4 separate regions of the Homo sapiens genome follow, and all the other regions are linked to region 1. Evidence: promoter capture Hi-C in 16 types of primary human blood cells and fetal thymus (Javierre and others, 2016). All regions are on one chromosome and are shown on one strand. The core of a region is centred on a gene start or on the middle of the fragment in contact, and the rest is flanking DNA. Distances in the headings are between cores, read along the strand shown. Region 1 holds the start of UBE3C (ubiquitin protein ligase E3C). Region 2 overlaps RBM33 (RNA binding motif protein 33). Region 3 overlaps RBM33 (RNA binding motif protein 33). Region 4 overlaps SHH (sonic hedgehog signaling molecule).

Region 1 (3,539 bases), core at 1-2,500:
TGCCTTAGCCTCCAGAGTAGCTTGGACTACAGGCGTGCACCACCACACCGGCCTAAGTTTTGTATTTTATTAGAGATGGGGTTTCACCATGTTGGCCAGGCTGGTCTCGAACTTTTCACTTCAGGTGATCCGCCCGCCTTGGCCTCCCAGAGTGCTGGGATTACCGGCGTGAGCGACCGTGCTCGGCCGCAGGACGACTGTAGATGATATCGTATTGTGTGTTGAAATTTTGCTAAGAGAGTAGATTTTATGTACTCTTACCACACACACACAAAGAGGGTAGTCATTTCACAATGTCTCTATGAAATCATCATGTTGCACACCTTGTATACAACCAAAAATCAATTTTTAGAAATTGGTTTCAATCGTGTATGATATATATGTATATGCACATGTATATGAGATATTATGTATACGTATGTGTGGATATAAGACACATGTTTATGTATAGGTGGTCCCCAACTTAAAATGGCTCAACTTACAATTTTTTGACTTTGTGATGGGTTTATTGTAGCATTAAATACATTTTCAACTTACAATATTTTCATCTTACGATGGGTTTATCAGGACAAAGCCCCATGGTAAGTCCAGGAGCAAATATTTTTGCATACACAGGTATGTGTACATGATACATATTTATATGTATTGATGCTGTATCTATAGATGCATATGTGTGCTATGTATGAGGCAAATCTGCGCATGTCTGTGTACATGGTAAATATTTACGTCCGTCTGTGCGTGTCATAGACATAGAACAGGTGGGATGTAAACAGACGGGCTGGGCCTAGCTGCTCCTTTCCCGCCTCACTCGAGTCTGGCACCAGATTGGCCGCTCCCAGCCCGCTCCGGGTGCCGGCCCCTGCACCCCACCCTGCACCCCGCACCCTGCCCTGCACCCCATCCCGGCCCGTGCCTCGCACTCCACCTTTCCCGCACCCTGCCCCGCACCCAACACCTCCCGCGCCCCTCGCCGCGCTCCCCCAGCACGCACCAGGCCCCGCCCACTCCGCCGCGTGCCCAGCCCGCGTCACCGCCGTCCTCCCCAGGCTCCAGCGCGCCTTGCGGGGCCGCGCACGCTAGCGGAACCGCCGGGAAGAGCGCCGTGCCGTCAATGGCGGAGGCGCGCACGTCTGCAGGGCCGCGCACGTCTGCAGGGCCGCGCACGTCTGCAGGGCCGCGCACGTCTGCAGGGCCGCGCACGTCTGCAGGGCCGCGCACGTCTGCAGGGCCGCGCACGTCTGCAGGGCCGCGCACGCACTGACGGCTGACCGCCATCTTCCCTCCCGAGGCGGCAGTTCCAGGTGCAAGCGCCGGGTTTGCTGCCCGCTGGGCGCCCCTGCAGCGGCCCGAGCTGTGGCCGGCGTGGATGAGGGGCAGGCGAGGCAGGGCCGCCCCTCCAGTATTGCCGCCCCTCCCGCCCCAGGGCAGGGCTGGGAGGGTACAGCCCGGGGGCGGGCTCGGGTCGCCTCCCGGCCGCCGCGTCCTCGCTGCCCCGGGCCGGGCGGGCGGGCGCCGAGAGCCTCCCAGCCCGCCCCGTGCCCCGCCCGCCCGGCTGCTTCCGCGGCGGCGCTGCCCGCACATGGGCTAGGCTGCCAGGATGTTCAGCTTCGAAGGCGACTTCAAGACGCGGCCCAAGGTGTCCCTTGGCGGCGCGAGCAGGAAGGTGAGGGCCGGGCTGGCGGGGCGCCCTCGGCTCGGGGCCTGCGCGGCCGGGGCTCGGGGCTGGGACTCGGGGCTGGACTCGGGGCTGGACTCGGGGCCGAGACTTGGGGCTGGATTCGGGGCCTCCCTGGCGGGGACTCGGGGCTTCCTCGCCGGATCTCGGGGCCGCTCCGGCCGGGACTCGGGGTTGGACTCGGAGCCGAGACTTGGGGCCAGGACTCTGGCTGGGGCTTAGGACTGGACTCGGGGCCTCCCTGGCTGGAACTCGAGGCCGCGCCCGTGGGGGCCTTGCCTGTCCACTGCGCTTCGGGACCCGGGCGCGCTGGCCGTGGCTCCCTTCCATGCAGGAGGCCGGTGAACCCTGGCACGCTTTGTGCCACCCAAGGTGAACTTACCCTTTCTGGGTGTTTCCTTTCAGAAATGCGCTTTCCATGCTCGCTCCCGCATGGCATCAGGGAGTGGCTGCTTTTCGAATGCCACCTGAAGGGCGTTTTCGGTTGTAGAAGGTGAACGGCACGCATTTGCTGATGTCGATAATCTCTAAAGTAGAGGCAGAACGTCTCATGAATAGCCACGTGTTTGAATCCAAGACGAGGGCAATTATTTGCCACCAGCCTCCTGGAAACTGTGGAGAGACTCCGGACTTACATCTGTTGTGATCGACATTAAGTTGTTCGCATGGTAATTGTTTAGGATAAGGGTAGGCAAACCATGACGCCTCTGTTCTAGTCTAGAATTTCTAGCTGTCTGTCCCTGAAGACGGGCATCAGTTGGTTCACTGGAACCGCTAAGTCGTTGAACACTGTGTGGTCTTGTTCCCGCCCCTCCCTTCCCACCCCTTCCCATCATTTCTGAAATGTTCTTTAAAATGCTTCACCTAGTTTTTCTTGTCTATCAGTATATTCTGTATATCACAACCACCAGGTAGGCACATAACGCAGAGTGGGTGCTGGCAGGCCAAGGAGGAACTGCTGTTATTAAGATTGTGCTGTGGGGCTGTGTTTGGTGGTTTCTGAGGTTAGAAGGGAACCTGGGTAAAGAGTTGGGAGAGAAGTGTGCTGATAATTTTTCAGCTTTGAGGTTCGTGTGATGGTGATTGCTTGGAAGTCACTTGTGCTCCAGAACTAAGTACTGTGCAGTTAAGGGTGGTCGTGGTAGCACTTAGGGTCTTCCACGTTAATGAAAATGTTTTATGAGATCAAAGGATTTCTACAGTTAGGAGAGACTTCAGAGAATCTCAGGGCCAAATCGCCTTGCTTACAAGTTCGGAAGGTGAGCTGCAGAACATTTGAAGGAGTGCCCATTCACACAGCAAGCTAGTGGCAGACCATCTGAGACTCCATGCCATTTACACAGCGCCGCGCGGCCTCTGTTGCAGGCAGGAACACCCCACGGGCCACGGATGTTGGTCCCTTTTCACCAAGGAGTGCATCTCTGCTCTGAGGGAGTGAGATTTCTTAACTGTTGATCAGAATCTCAAGGGAAGATAGCACGAGCTGTGTAAAAGAATCACCCCTTTAAAAACAAAACTCTTTTTATTGAGGTATAACTTAAGATACAGTCAGGTTCACAAACACTAAAGAGATCCTTGTGCAAGTGAAATTGAGGAGGAAGGGCGAGAGGGAAGCTGGGTAGGGAAGGAAAAGGCGTCTCAGCTGGAGGCTAGCGTTAACCCCATCTCACCAGGAGCATGCTACAATTGGCCCTAATTGCGGCAGAGGGGTTGGTGGCTGCAGGCTGCTGCCCCTCCGGGATGAGGGTGGGAGTGTGGCACTGCTAACCCTGAGCCGAGGGCCATTCTTCTGGGAGAGAGTGGCAGTAAAGAGCCCTTAGTAGGAACTGGCAGCAGCTGGGGCATGGGTGCCCTGGCCTGGTTA
Region 2 (3,539 bases), core at 703-3,202, 1.5 Mb before region 1:
ACTAATGACAAAGTCCCTTAGGTCATACCTGGGGATATAATTTTTGAATGGCAGTTTGAAATATTTCATCCTATCACCTTCTGGCTTCCATCGTTTCTGATGAGAAATTGACTGTTAATCTTATGGAGGATCCTTTGTACATGACATGTCACTTCTCTCTTGGTGTATTCAAGATTCTCTTTGTCTTTGGCTTTTGATAGTGTGATCATAATGTGTTTCTGTGTGGGTCTCCAGATTTATCCTGCTTGGAGTGGTGAGCTTCTTGAATATGTAGGTTCATGTCTTTCACCAAATTTGGAAGCTTTTTATTTTTTTCTCCAGTTCTTTTTCCTGCTACTTTGTTTTCTCCTTCTGGGACTCCCATAATGCATAGATTGGTACTTTTAATGATGTCCCCGTTTTTTAAGGCTCTGCTTATTTTTCCTCTGCTCCTTAGACTGGATAATTTCAATATTTTCCTGTTTCCTCACCTATAGCACCCTTGTTTTCTTCAGAACGTTTATCTCAATTTGTAATTTTCTTTAGTTATTTACTTGTTTTTTAAATCTGCCTCCCACATAAGCCTGTAAGCCTCATGAGGAGAAAAAATGCTGTTTTACCATGCATTCCACATCTTCCTGGCACATAGCATGTGTTAGATATTTGGTGAATGAATTAAAGAATGACATATTTTCTGTATGAATCTGAAAAAATATAATTGTATCCTAATTTATGTTAGTCAATTCCACATGATTCACCTGTGTAACTGATTAAATCATGTTAGCTTGATTTTTTCGGTCCCTCAGTTTTGGGACTGAAAATTGGACATTTTAAATATGGTGATGTGGAAATTTTGGAAGTCAGAATGTCCCCCCCCTTTTCTGGGTTTGCTATATTTCTTGTTGTGGCCTTCAGTTGTCTGGTTTTTTAATGACTTGCCAAATGAAGAGACTCTATTCCTTGTCTCCTGTGGTCACTGATGTCTCCATTGTGTTGTATCATTGCCCAGCCAGTGATCTGATGGAGATGTCCTCAAATGGCTGGAGCTGCAAATAAAACAAAACCAAAACCAAAAAACAAACAAAAACTCCTGTGCTTACGTTACTTCATTGCTCATCCAGGCCACCTATAACCCCAACCTTAGCCTCACCTTCTGCATATGCGTAGCTCAAAGATCAGCCAGAGGTATAAATCTAGGGTTCTTTCAAGTTGTTTTCTGAGCATGTGCCCAGCCTTCAGCATATGCATGGTCTTCCAGATTTCCCATTATACATGGGAGCCCCCAACACTCTCATTCCTTCATATATTTTCCTCCTCAGCCTCTTCTTTCCCAGGCTTTTCAGTTTGTATGTTGCTAACCCTGGCCATCATCCCTTGCCCCAGGTGACCCTGGTTAGTGGATGTCTTTAAATGCTTTTGACAAGCACTGCCTGGGATGCCGCTCTAGCTCTGAGAGAGTTCTGAAGGGGTGGTCTCTGAGCTGATTCCTCAGCTCAGGTCACAATGCACAATCACAATTTTTTGAGGACAGGTTCTTATTGACCCCTTTAGCATCACTGCACCAGGAGCACTGACTGCCATCCCCAGTGCTGCCTCTGAGCTGTGAAACGCTTTCTCTGCATCTGTTGTGATTATGTGTTCTTCCCCTGTTCTTTAATCTCTTAATGTAATCTATTGATAGATTTCCAGTGCTGAACTAAGCATGCATTCTGGGGTTCAAAATCTTGATCTCCACATTTTGTTCTTTTTAATATATTGTTGGATTTCATTTTAGGATTTATCTCTGATCATAAGGGAGACTGACTTACTGTTTTCTTCCTTGGTATTTGTGTGTACATTTGTGCTATCCTTTTATTTATGATATGTTGGTTTTTAGAATGAGTTGTGAAATTTTCTGGGATGGTGTAAAAATCTGTTATTGACTGTGGAAGAACTCTTTTCTCCAGAGCCATTTGGGTCTGGTTCCCTTTAAAAAAGTTATCTTTTCAATTTCCTGTATTATTATTGATTTATTTAGTTTTATAAGATGAAAAGTCAATTACGATCATTTAAATTTTCCTAGAAAAATTATTCTTTATGTTCAGATTTCCACATTGATATAGAGTTAAGCAATGCCACAGCTTCTTTTTGTTGTTGTTGTTGTTGTTTTTGTTTTGAGACGGACTCTCGCTCTATCGCCCAGGCTGGAGTGTTGTAGTGGTGTGATCTCAGCTCACTGCCACCTCCACCTCTTGGGTTCAAGCGATTCTTCAGCCTCAGCCTCTCAAGTAGCTGGGATTACAGGCACATGCTACCACACCCAGCTGATTTTTGTATTTTTAGTAGAGACGGGGTTTTGCCACGTTGGCCAGGCTGGTCTGGAACTCCTGACCTCAGGTGATCTGCCCGCCTCGGCCTCCCAAAGTGCTAGGATTACAGGCGTGAGCCACTGCACCTGGCCGACAGCTTCTTGAGTGTGTGTGTTGAAGGTAAATTTTTTGAGATTGAGACTCCTGAGTCTGAAGGAAATTTTAATTTTCACAACTTGATTGGTGGTTTTGTTGGGTCCAGAATTTTAGATTTGAGTTTATTTTTGTAAGATTTTTGGCGGTATTGTTGTGTTTTCTGGCATCCAGATCTGCTCTTGAGAAGTTTGAGGACATTCTGATTCCTAATCATTTTTTATGTGACCTTTTTTCATTCTAGAAGTTTTTAACAACATTTTCTCCTCTTTGTTTGACATTTCATCCCTTAAACTCAGCCATTTAGAAGGCTTCATGGCTAGGCCAGGAGGTGGAGGTTGTAGTGAGCCGAGATCGCACCACTGCACTCCAGCCTGGGCAACAGGGAAACTCTTTGTCTCACCAAAAAAAAAAAAAAAAAAAAGGGTCTAGGTTCCTGGGAAAAGAAATGAGTGTCAGTTCCTATAGATTTTAAGTCATGATGGGAACATCCAGTAGGCTGAGCTCAGCTCACTTGCCTCTTCTCGGCTACCCAAGTTTATAGAGCAAGCCTTTATAACTTCCATAATAGGAGGGGTCCTATCTCATATCAAGCAGGAATTCTATTATGATTGATTTTTAAACCCTGAATGATGAAAGTTTGTTGAAAGACAAACAAATGACCAATGAGGACTACACTTCATAAACAAAATAAAAACTTCATTTTAGGGAGAACCTCTCCTGGGGCCCGTGTAACATAGGAGATTTTTAAAACAGTGACTACAAATTATTTCTAAAGCAACATGGTGTAGGAACTCTTTCTGAAAATTTGGCTTGGCTATTCAGAACTTACTAGTTATGCTGTAAGGCTCATATGTTCACTTCGAAAGTTATTGGACATTACCTGATTTGTAGTTAATATTTAAATAAAGGATCTGGATTTCCTCATCTATAAAATAAGGAATTTTGACTATTAGTGATTTGGACTAGGAACATATTATACATGAGTGTGATATTGAGGAAAAAGAAGGTTGAGAACCTTTGGAATACAAAGGTCAGCAAACTTTTTCTGTAAAGGGTCAGATAGTAAATATTTTAGGCTTTGCAGGGCAGATGAGTTTTGTTGGAAGTGCTGAACTC
Region 3 (3,539 bases), core at 469-2,968, 1.4 Mb before region 1:
AAATAAAGTCACCACATATATCTAGAAATGTTATTTCCCAAAAGAACTGCATGATATTTTCTTTTTTCTTATTTTATTTTATTTTTTATTTTTGGGAGACAGAGTCTCGCTCTGTCACCCAGGCTGGAGTGCAGTGGTATGATCCTGTGATCATGATTCACTGCAACCTCCACCTGCTGGGCTCAAGGGATCCTTCCGCCTCAGCCTTCTGAGTACCTAGGACTAGAGGTGTACACCACTGGGCCTGGCTAATTTTTGATTTTTTTTTGTGGAGACAGGCCCTCACTTGAGTATAGTACTTCCAAAATCCAGATTCTATCTGTGAATTGCAGAATGTTGATCATTGTTTTATGATATATGAAATTTTCCTTATCCATTCTTAATGAAGGAATTTTTATATTTTTAGACAAGATAAGTTTAGAGAAGGTCCATTATTGTAGTTCTCACAGTAAGCTCTGCTGCAGTATTGGCAGCTGTTGTGTGAAACTGTTTCAGTCACTTTTGAGTGTTGTTTAAACCCCCCAGGATCCTGGAGCACTGAGCATGCTGGTGCTGTTGCCGGAAGAACGGAGAGAACCCCGGAGGCACGGCTGCAGCAGCTCTAACCTAGGTTAGGGTTAGGGTTTAGGTTCGGGTTAGGTTAGGGTTAGGGTTAGGCTGGGATGGACAAGTGACACTCACTCCACACAGCCCCTTACCTGGGAACAGAACAGATAGGATTTTCTCTTTGGAAGTTGCTCTATTGTTTCAGTGACTGAGTATCATTCACAGGCTAATACACAAAAGGGGTGCATGCTGAAATATGAGTCTGGCAGATTGGGAGAGAAAACAGGTCTCTGTCAAGAAATACAGGCGGAATTTCAAAGTCCAGAAAGCCATATTGCAAGCCATATTGCTGAGAATGTATCCAGGAGACCACGTTGTGGGGCTTTACTTTTCCTGTTAACTTAATGACAAGTGAAACTATCAAATTTCTTTTGTATTCATTTTTTATTTCAGAAAGAAGGGAGAAAGTCTGATATTTTACTGAACTTGTTTCAGAAAAAAACAGACCAATTCCGTTACTGCCTAGTGGGCTGCCTCATTGCTGGCCTGTCTCAGTGATGTCCCTAGACCAGGGCCGATGCTTCTGGGGTAGCCTGTGCGCAGGCCTTCTTGATGCCCTTGAATTTGGAGACTTGAACCTTTGTATTTCTGTGTAAACGCTGTTGTAGAAGCACTGGAAGACACCTTTTTCGGGAGTGTTTGAGTATTCTTTTAGAGCTCTGCTAGTCTTGTTTACTGATAGACATTCTATAGTTATTAAAATGGAGAGCAGTTATTTCATATACAGTGTAACTTTTTAAAACACTTTCCAAGTCACTGATGTTTTTTAGCTGTTTGCTTCCATTGTAGCTCTTTGACATGCTTTAAAATGAAATGGCCACATGTGCCTCAGTATTTTCAAGGGATCATGTGCTGGTAGTTAGTTATTTTCTCTAGCTATTCTGTTTCACTGAACAGAAGCTCAGACACAGCAAATAGTTTCTGGCCACCAAAAGTGCCTGCTGAATGCAGTCCTTCAGGACAGTGTTTGCTGGTGCCCATGCCAGGACCTGCCCAGGGACACCTGTTCTTAGAAGAATCGGGCACCAGGTGCGGTGGCTCATGCCTGTAATCCCAGCACTTTGGGAGGCCAAGGCAGAGGCGGATCATGAGGTCAGAAGTTTGAGACCAGCCTGGCCAACATAGTGAAACCCGGTCTCTACTAAAAATACAAAAAATTAGCTAGGGCGTGGTGATGGGTGCCTATAATCCCAGCTACTTGGGAGGCTGAGGTAGGAGAATCACTTGAACCCAGGAGGTGGAGGTTGCAGTGAGCTGAGATCCTGCCATTGCACACCAGCCCAGGCAACAGTGCGAGACTCCATCTCCAAAAAAAAAAAAAAAAAAAAAAAAAAAGGAGTCAGGGGCTCCTGTGCGTGCTCCAGACAGCAGGTACTAAGTTGACTGTGTCCTGAGGTAATTGAGAAGAACCAGACTCTAGAGCTTTGAGTTGCTTGAGAGTTCACAGAGCGCCACTGAACAGATCCACAGATGGCTGTGCTCTCCTCCTGCCTGCCCCTCCCAGCTCTAGATCCTAAAGGCTTAAGAAAGCAGAAAGCAGCTCCCCCTCTTCCTCAGGCAGCAGATTTGAGGACTAGATGTAAGTTTCGCTTTGCAAACACTTCCTCTGTAAATCTTTACTGGATTCATCATTTCTTTTGGCCAATCTTCATAAATTCATTTCTTTTTCACTGGCATTGTTTTAGGCCAGTGGGTGGCGACTTCATTTCAGATACCACTGTTTAAGACTGGTGTTCACAAACTCTTAAAGTACAAAATGTGACCACGTTATGCTGATGTCTGCCCCAGGCACCACTGCCCTCACCATGGCCCAGCCAGATGCACAGAGATGGTAGACTAGGGGCCATTGCCTACTGTGGGCTGTGGGGCCCCCATACTAAACAGTTTCCTCTGGTGTGATGAGTCCTGTTCTTAAAAAATTCATGGGGGTCCCTATTAAAAATCACCTGATAAGAAGGCGTGAGAAGAGGAGATGTCTCTATCCAAGGGTACCTGCTACCCGGTCTCCCAGAGCAGGTTGGGGCAGCTGATGGGGCCAGATGATGGGAGGCCTTAACACTAGGCTTGGAAGATGTAACTGTTGCTGTTGGGAATGATTTAGTAAAGCACTGTTTTGGAGTAGATTATCTAGATAAGTAAGACAAATTGCCAGGGAGCTAGAAAGGAAAATCAATTAGTGTGTTCCAAATGTCCGCCTGGACTCATTTTGTGTTAAAACTAATAATGCTTAAATATATATATTCATATTTTTTATTGTCATTTACAACTGATCTTAAAGTGTTTGTTTTCTTCCTCTAGAGTTTACAGATGCTTCCTCAGCAACGGAAAGCCATAGCTAAGTTCAAGGAGCCAGCCCACGCATTAGCATTTCAGCAGAAATTCCACAGGTGACCAGTGTGTTCTGTGCTTGTGGTGATAAGGGGGCGGGAGCAAGGCCCTCCTTCCTGTGCCCTCCCATCCATCATGGTAGCAAGCGTGTGTCCCCACCTGTTCCTGTAGAAGGACACTAGGGCACAAAGCGCAGACGGTGATCCTGTCATGAGGCGCGCGTCCTTTTGTCTGGTGGAGAATTGCCCCTTGTGTTTTAATAGATCTTCCCGGGGAATCTGCCTTTTTATATGATGCGTTTTTATTAAACAGGACCCACCGGGCTCTTTTAGTTTCCTCCCACCTTGGTAGGTTGATTGCCGATGTGCAGGGTTAGTGTCGATCGTTTCTTTAAATTTTCACAGGCATATGATAGATTTGTCCCACATAAATGTGGCCCTGATCGTGGAGTGAGTCCTAACAAGAGAGCCTGACCTTAGGCTGTACACACACTGTGGAATTTCTTCAAGGGAGCTGCCGGCCGGCGCAGAACCCCCAGGAGCACAGGTCTCTCCGGGCCGCTGTCCTGCGTAACTGTTCTCCAGAGCGCCAGCCAGCCACGGGCC
Region 4 (3,539 bases), core at 662-3,161, 1.3 Mb before region 1:
AAGCGTTCTGTGCATGGCACATTTTATTTCTATAAAACTATTACAAAATATTCAAAAATACATTTTAGTAAATTTACAGCGTTATTTCTCAATTTATTAATGCAAAAACATCCTTTGTTTTCTCTGTACAAACTGCAGGCTCCATCCTCGTGGGCTCGTCACTATGTGCGCTTTTAAAAAATATTATTTTCTAATAAATTCTTTGAAGTTAAAAATAACAGTTCTTCCAGTTTGTCCAAAAAAAAAAAAAAAAAAAAAAAAGAAAAGAAAAGAAAAAGAAAAGTGTGTGTGTATGTTGTGTGTGTAACAGTCTTGGCTTCCAAGAATGTGGCAAAATGGTGAATACAAAGGGAATATGAAACCATAAAGACAACAGAGGAGATGGCTGTTACATCGGAAACTAGTTAAATTAAAATAATATATTTTCATATTTTACACTATTTCAAAAATGAAATGTAATTCAGTTAAGTATTGATCTCTCAAAAAATCTAATTTACAATTCTGTGTATAAAAATATAATTTGTGGACCCCCATGAAGCACGTTTGAGTTTGCACTTGCTGAGAAGCAGGAGATGGAAGGGAGGGATGGCGGGGACAGAGGTTTGCTTTCTGACAGCCGGGACGAGGGACATGTAGAAAAATAGACTCTGAGCAGGTTGCTTGGCCTCACAAAATAATCTTTCCCCCGTGAGTACAGTTCACATGATCATAATAAATTATCCAAGAAACAAACTATTTAAGGCTCTTGAAGGTCCGGTTCATATTATTTAAAACATCTATTCATACCAAACAAATAAATAGCCAGGAGAGGAGGAAAAAATAACCAAAATAAAACAATAACCAAAAAAATTCAAAAAATATATATCAACTAAGCACAACAACAAAACTTCCCGGGGTCCTTGTTTCCTTAGAGTCTACTTTGGACTGTCCTACTTTATTATTCTTATTCTTATTATAACTCAGTCTGGTTCGTGCGCCTTTTCCGAGTGTCTTTTTGCTTTGCGTTGCTGTTGCTGCCCCGCCCCGCCCCCTCCCGCGCCCCTCCCCCGGCCCCCCGGCTTCAGCTGGACTTGACCGCCATGCCCAGCGGGTGCAGGGCCTCGCTGTCCAGGAGCCAGGTGCCTATTTGGTAGAGCAGCTGCGAGTACCAGTGGATGCCCGCGGTGGCCCCCGCACCCGGAGCGTCGGCAGCACCTGGAGCGGTTAGGGCTACTCTGCCGCCGCCGCCCCCGCGGTCCCCGCCGCCGCTGTCCCCGCCGCGGTCCGTGCGCGCGGGCGCCAGTGCAGCCAGGAGCGCGTGCGCCAGGCGGAAGGGCGCGAAGGCCCGGTGCGCCCAGCTGTGCTCCTCGATGACCGCGTAGCACGAGGCCAGCACCCGGTTGATGAGAATGGTGCCCTGGGCCGTGAGCGGCGCGTAGGCGCCCGCGGCCTCCTCGCTTAGGGTCACGCTGTGCACAGCGGCGGGCAGGAGCCGGCGGTCCCCGTCACGCTCGGCCACCACGTACACGCGCTGGCCCGGGCGCACGCGGCTGGCGAACAGCGCCCGAGGCCCCAGTGCGCCCCCGGAAGGCGGCCCCGAGCCCGAGGACGCCTCGGGCTCCCCGGTGGCCGAGTCGTTGTGCGGCGCCACAAAGAGCAGGTGCGCGGCGGTGAGCAGCAGGCGCTCGCGCGGCTCCCGCGTCTCGATCACGTAGAAGACCTTCTTGGCGCCGTCGTCGCGGTCCAGGAAAGTGAGGAAGTCGCTGTAGAGCAGCCGGCCCTGGTCGTCCGCCGCCAGCACGCGGTCCCCGGGGCTCAGGTCCTTCACCAGCTTGGTGCCGCCCTGCTCCAGGTGCACCGTGGCCGAGCCCGGGAAGCAGCCTCCCGATTTGGCCGCCACCGAGTTCTCTGCGGGTGAGGAGAAGGGAAAGAAGAGAGGACAGGGCATTGAGTTCCGAGAGGGAGGCGCGTCTCGGGGAGGAGGGCGCACGCTTGGTGCCCGCGCTCCTAGGCCAGGGGTGCGCAAGGCGCGGGGCGGGGCGATTGATTCCAGGCGGGTCCCGCACACACCTCCCTCCCCCAACCCCACTGCCCCAGGGACAGGATTCCGACACATTCCTTAACGACTCTCTAAGTCTGGGCTGGCGGTCACAGAGGTTGGCTGGCGTTTCCTGCAGAGGCCGGTGACACTCTTTCCTTCCGCCTTCCTCCAACCCCACCCCCAGCTCCGCACACACCCGGCCTCGCCGCGAATCCATCCAGAGGGTGTTTGCTCTGCACTTGGATTCCTCAGGAAGCCTCCTTGAGCTCCCGCGGGCGCCGGGCGCACCCTCCTTCCCTCCCGCCCCGGCGCGGGGCGCGGCGCCTGCTCGCGCACTCAGCACCCGGGCTGCGCGGCGGAAACCCCTGGCCCGCCTGCCCGCCTGCCCGCCTGCCCGCAGCACCCTGCCGCGCCTCGGCGTGGGCCTGCGGAGGGGCGGGGGCGGGGAGTGAAAAATAGCTGCAGTAGTTGTAGCAACTGGACAAACATTCCAGAGATTGGCCGAGGTGTGAAAATCCGAGGCTTGTGTGGATTTTCTAATTAAAATCCAATAAAGGGCCCAGCATTGTCATTGTGATTTCTGGGATAAACAGGAGACACTCTTGGAAGGGGACACTTCCATTTTCTCCCCTCCCTGTTCTCAGCTCACTCTCTCCCCAGCTCGCGGGCCTCCCCCTCCCTATTTGCTCAGGTGCAACCCCCCCCCACCCCGTGTGCAATTCACAAGCACTATTTGCACAGCCAGGCCTCTCTTCCAAGCACTCAAGATGTGTATTTGAATTTTAAATGGCGGGGCCTGTTCGGAGCGCTGGAAGCGCCGGGTCTCAAGGCCCCTTGACTACCCGCTTTCTCGAGCCCTCTGTCGCTCTCTGAGGCTCACTGTCCCCAGGACAATAATTGAAGTTGGGGCGGAGCGCAGGGGGCCGGGGAGGAGGGCGGGGAGGGCCGTCTTCTTTGCATTCCAATCTCCGGGATCATGCTTTTTGCAAATAGAGATTGCCAGAAAGAATCTTCCTGCTGGAATTACAGGGGGCTTTTAATCTTCTCATCGGTTTCTCTGGCATGAAGTGCGGGGCTGGCCGTTGGAGGCCCTCCGTAGCCCCCCGGAATGCGACCCCGGGCGCTGGCGAGCCCGAGTCGTCGAGTCGCACGGCCCGGCTTGACACGCTGCGCCCCGCGCCCCCGCCCGTGTGCTCAGAATGCCAATGAGCGGCTCCCGCGCCGCGGCTCCGCTCTCCCGGCGCGATCCGGGGGATGGATTAGCGCTGCTCACTTGGGAGGAGGCCTCCGGAGACCCCCGCTAGGGGGACCCCGCGGGCAGGGAGCCGGGGAGGAGGTTTTGCGCAGGGGGCGCCCTGGGCCCAGGGGCCGCCGCCGAGCCCGCGAGGTGGGGGCGCCGCCTCCTGCCTGCCTGCAGCCGGGAGCTCTCCGGGCCGCACACCCGCCCCTGCCGCCCCCGCTCCACGCCTTTGCTTTCTGTGGGGACGAGAAGCCACTCTAGCCTTTACCTACAAGTGTG

Evidence for each region. Contacts are between HindIII fragments. The CHiCAGO score rates a contact against its expected background, and 5 or more counts as called.
Region 2: a contact is called between a fragment that was not itself captured here and the fragment with the promoter of UBE3C in region 1, in 1 of 17 cell types (monocytes). The highest score is 6.6, in monocytes.
Region 3: a fragment that was not itself captured here is called in contact with the fragment with the promoter of UBE3C in region 1 in 2 of 17 cell types (monocytes and M0 macrophages); the score reaches 6.2 in monocytes.
Region 4: a contact is called between a fragment that was not itself captured here and the fragment with the promoter of UBE3C in region 1, in 2 of 17 cell types (M1 macrophages and megakaryocytes). The highest score is 5.1, in M1 macrophages.

What each region holds. Positions count from the first base shown.
Region 1 is chr7:157,137,676-157,141,214 of GRCh38, forward strand. It overlaps UBE3C (ubiquitin protein ligase E3C), which reads left to right and starts at 1,251. Exons shown (of 23, transcript NM_014671.3): 1 at 1,251-1,663. The coding sequence starts at 1,598. RefSeq lists silencers at 743-1,092, 1,373-1,762, 1,813-1,882. The HindIII fragment of the contact is 7,086 bases long and covers 1-3,539 here.
Region 2 is chr7:155,648,759-155,652,297 of GRCh38, forward strand. All of the region lies in intron 1 of RBM33 (RNA binding motif protein 33), which reads left to right. Among named protein-coding and RNA genes, the nearest start is that of RBM33, 5.9 kb to the left of the region's middle. The HindIII fragment of the contact is 3,307 bases long and covers 300-3,539 here.
Region 3 is chr7:155,771,655-155,775,193 of GRCh38, forward strand. It overlaps RBM33 (RNA binding motif protein 33), which reads left to right. Exons shown (of 18, transcript NM_053043.3): 17 at 2,905-2,993; 18 at 3,339-3,539. The coding sequence ends at 3,387. Among named protein-coding and RNA genes, the nearest start is that of SHH, 39 kb to the right of the region's middle. RefSeq lists an enhancer at 3,262-3,539. The HindIII fragment of the contact is 4,227 bases long and covers 1-3,539 here.
Region 4 is chr7:155,801,840-155,805,378 of GRCh38, forward strand. It overlaps SHH (sonic hedgehog signaling molecule), which reads right to left. Exons shown (of 3, transcript NM_000193.4): 3 at 1-1,887. The coding sequence ends at 1,061. Among named protein-coding and RNA genes, the nearest start is that of SHH, 8.9 kb to the right of the region's middle. RefSeq lists a silencer at 3,241-3,420 and an enhancer at 3,327-3,539. The HindIII fragment of the contact is 9,246 bases long and covers 1-3,539 here.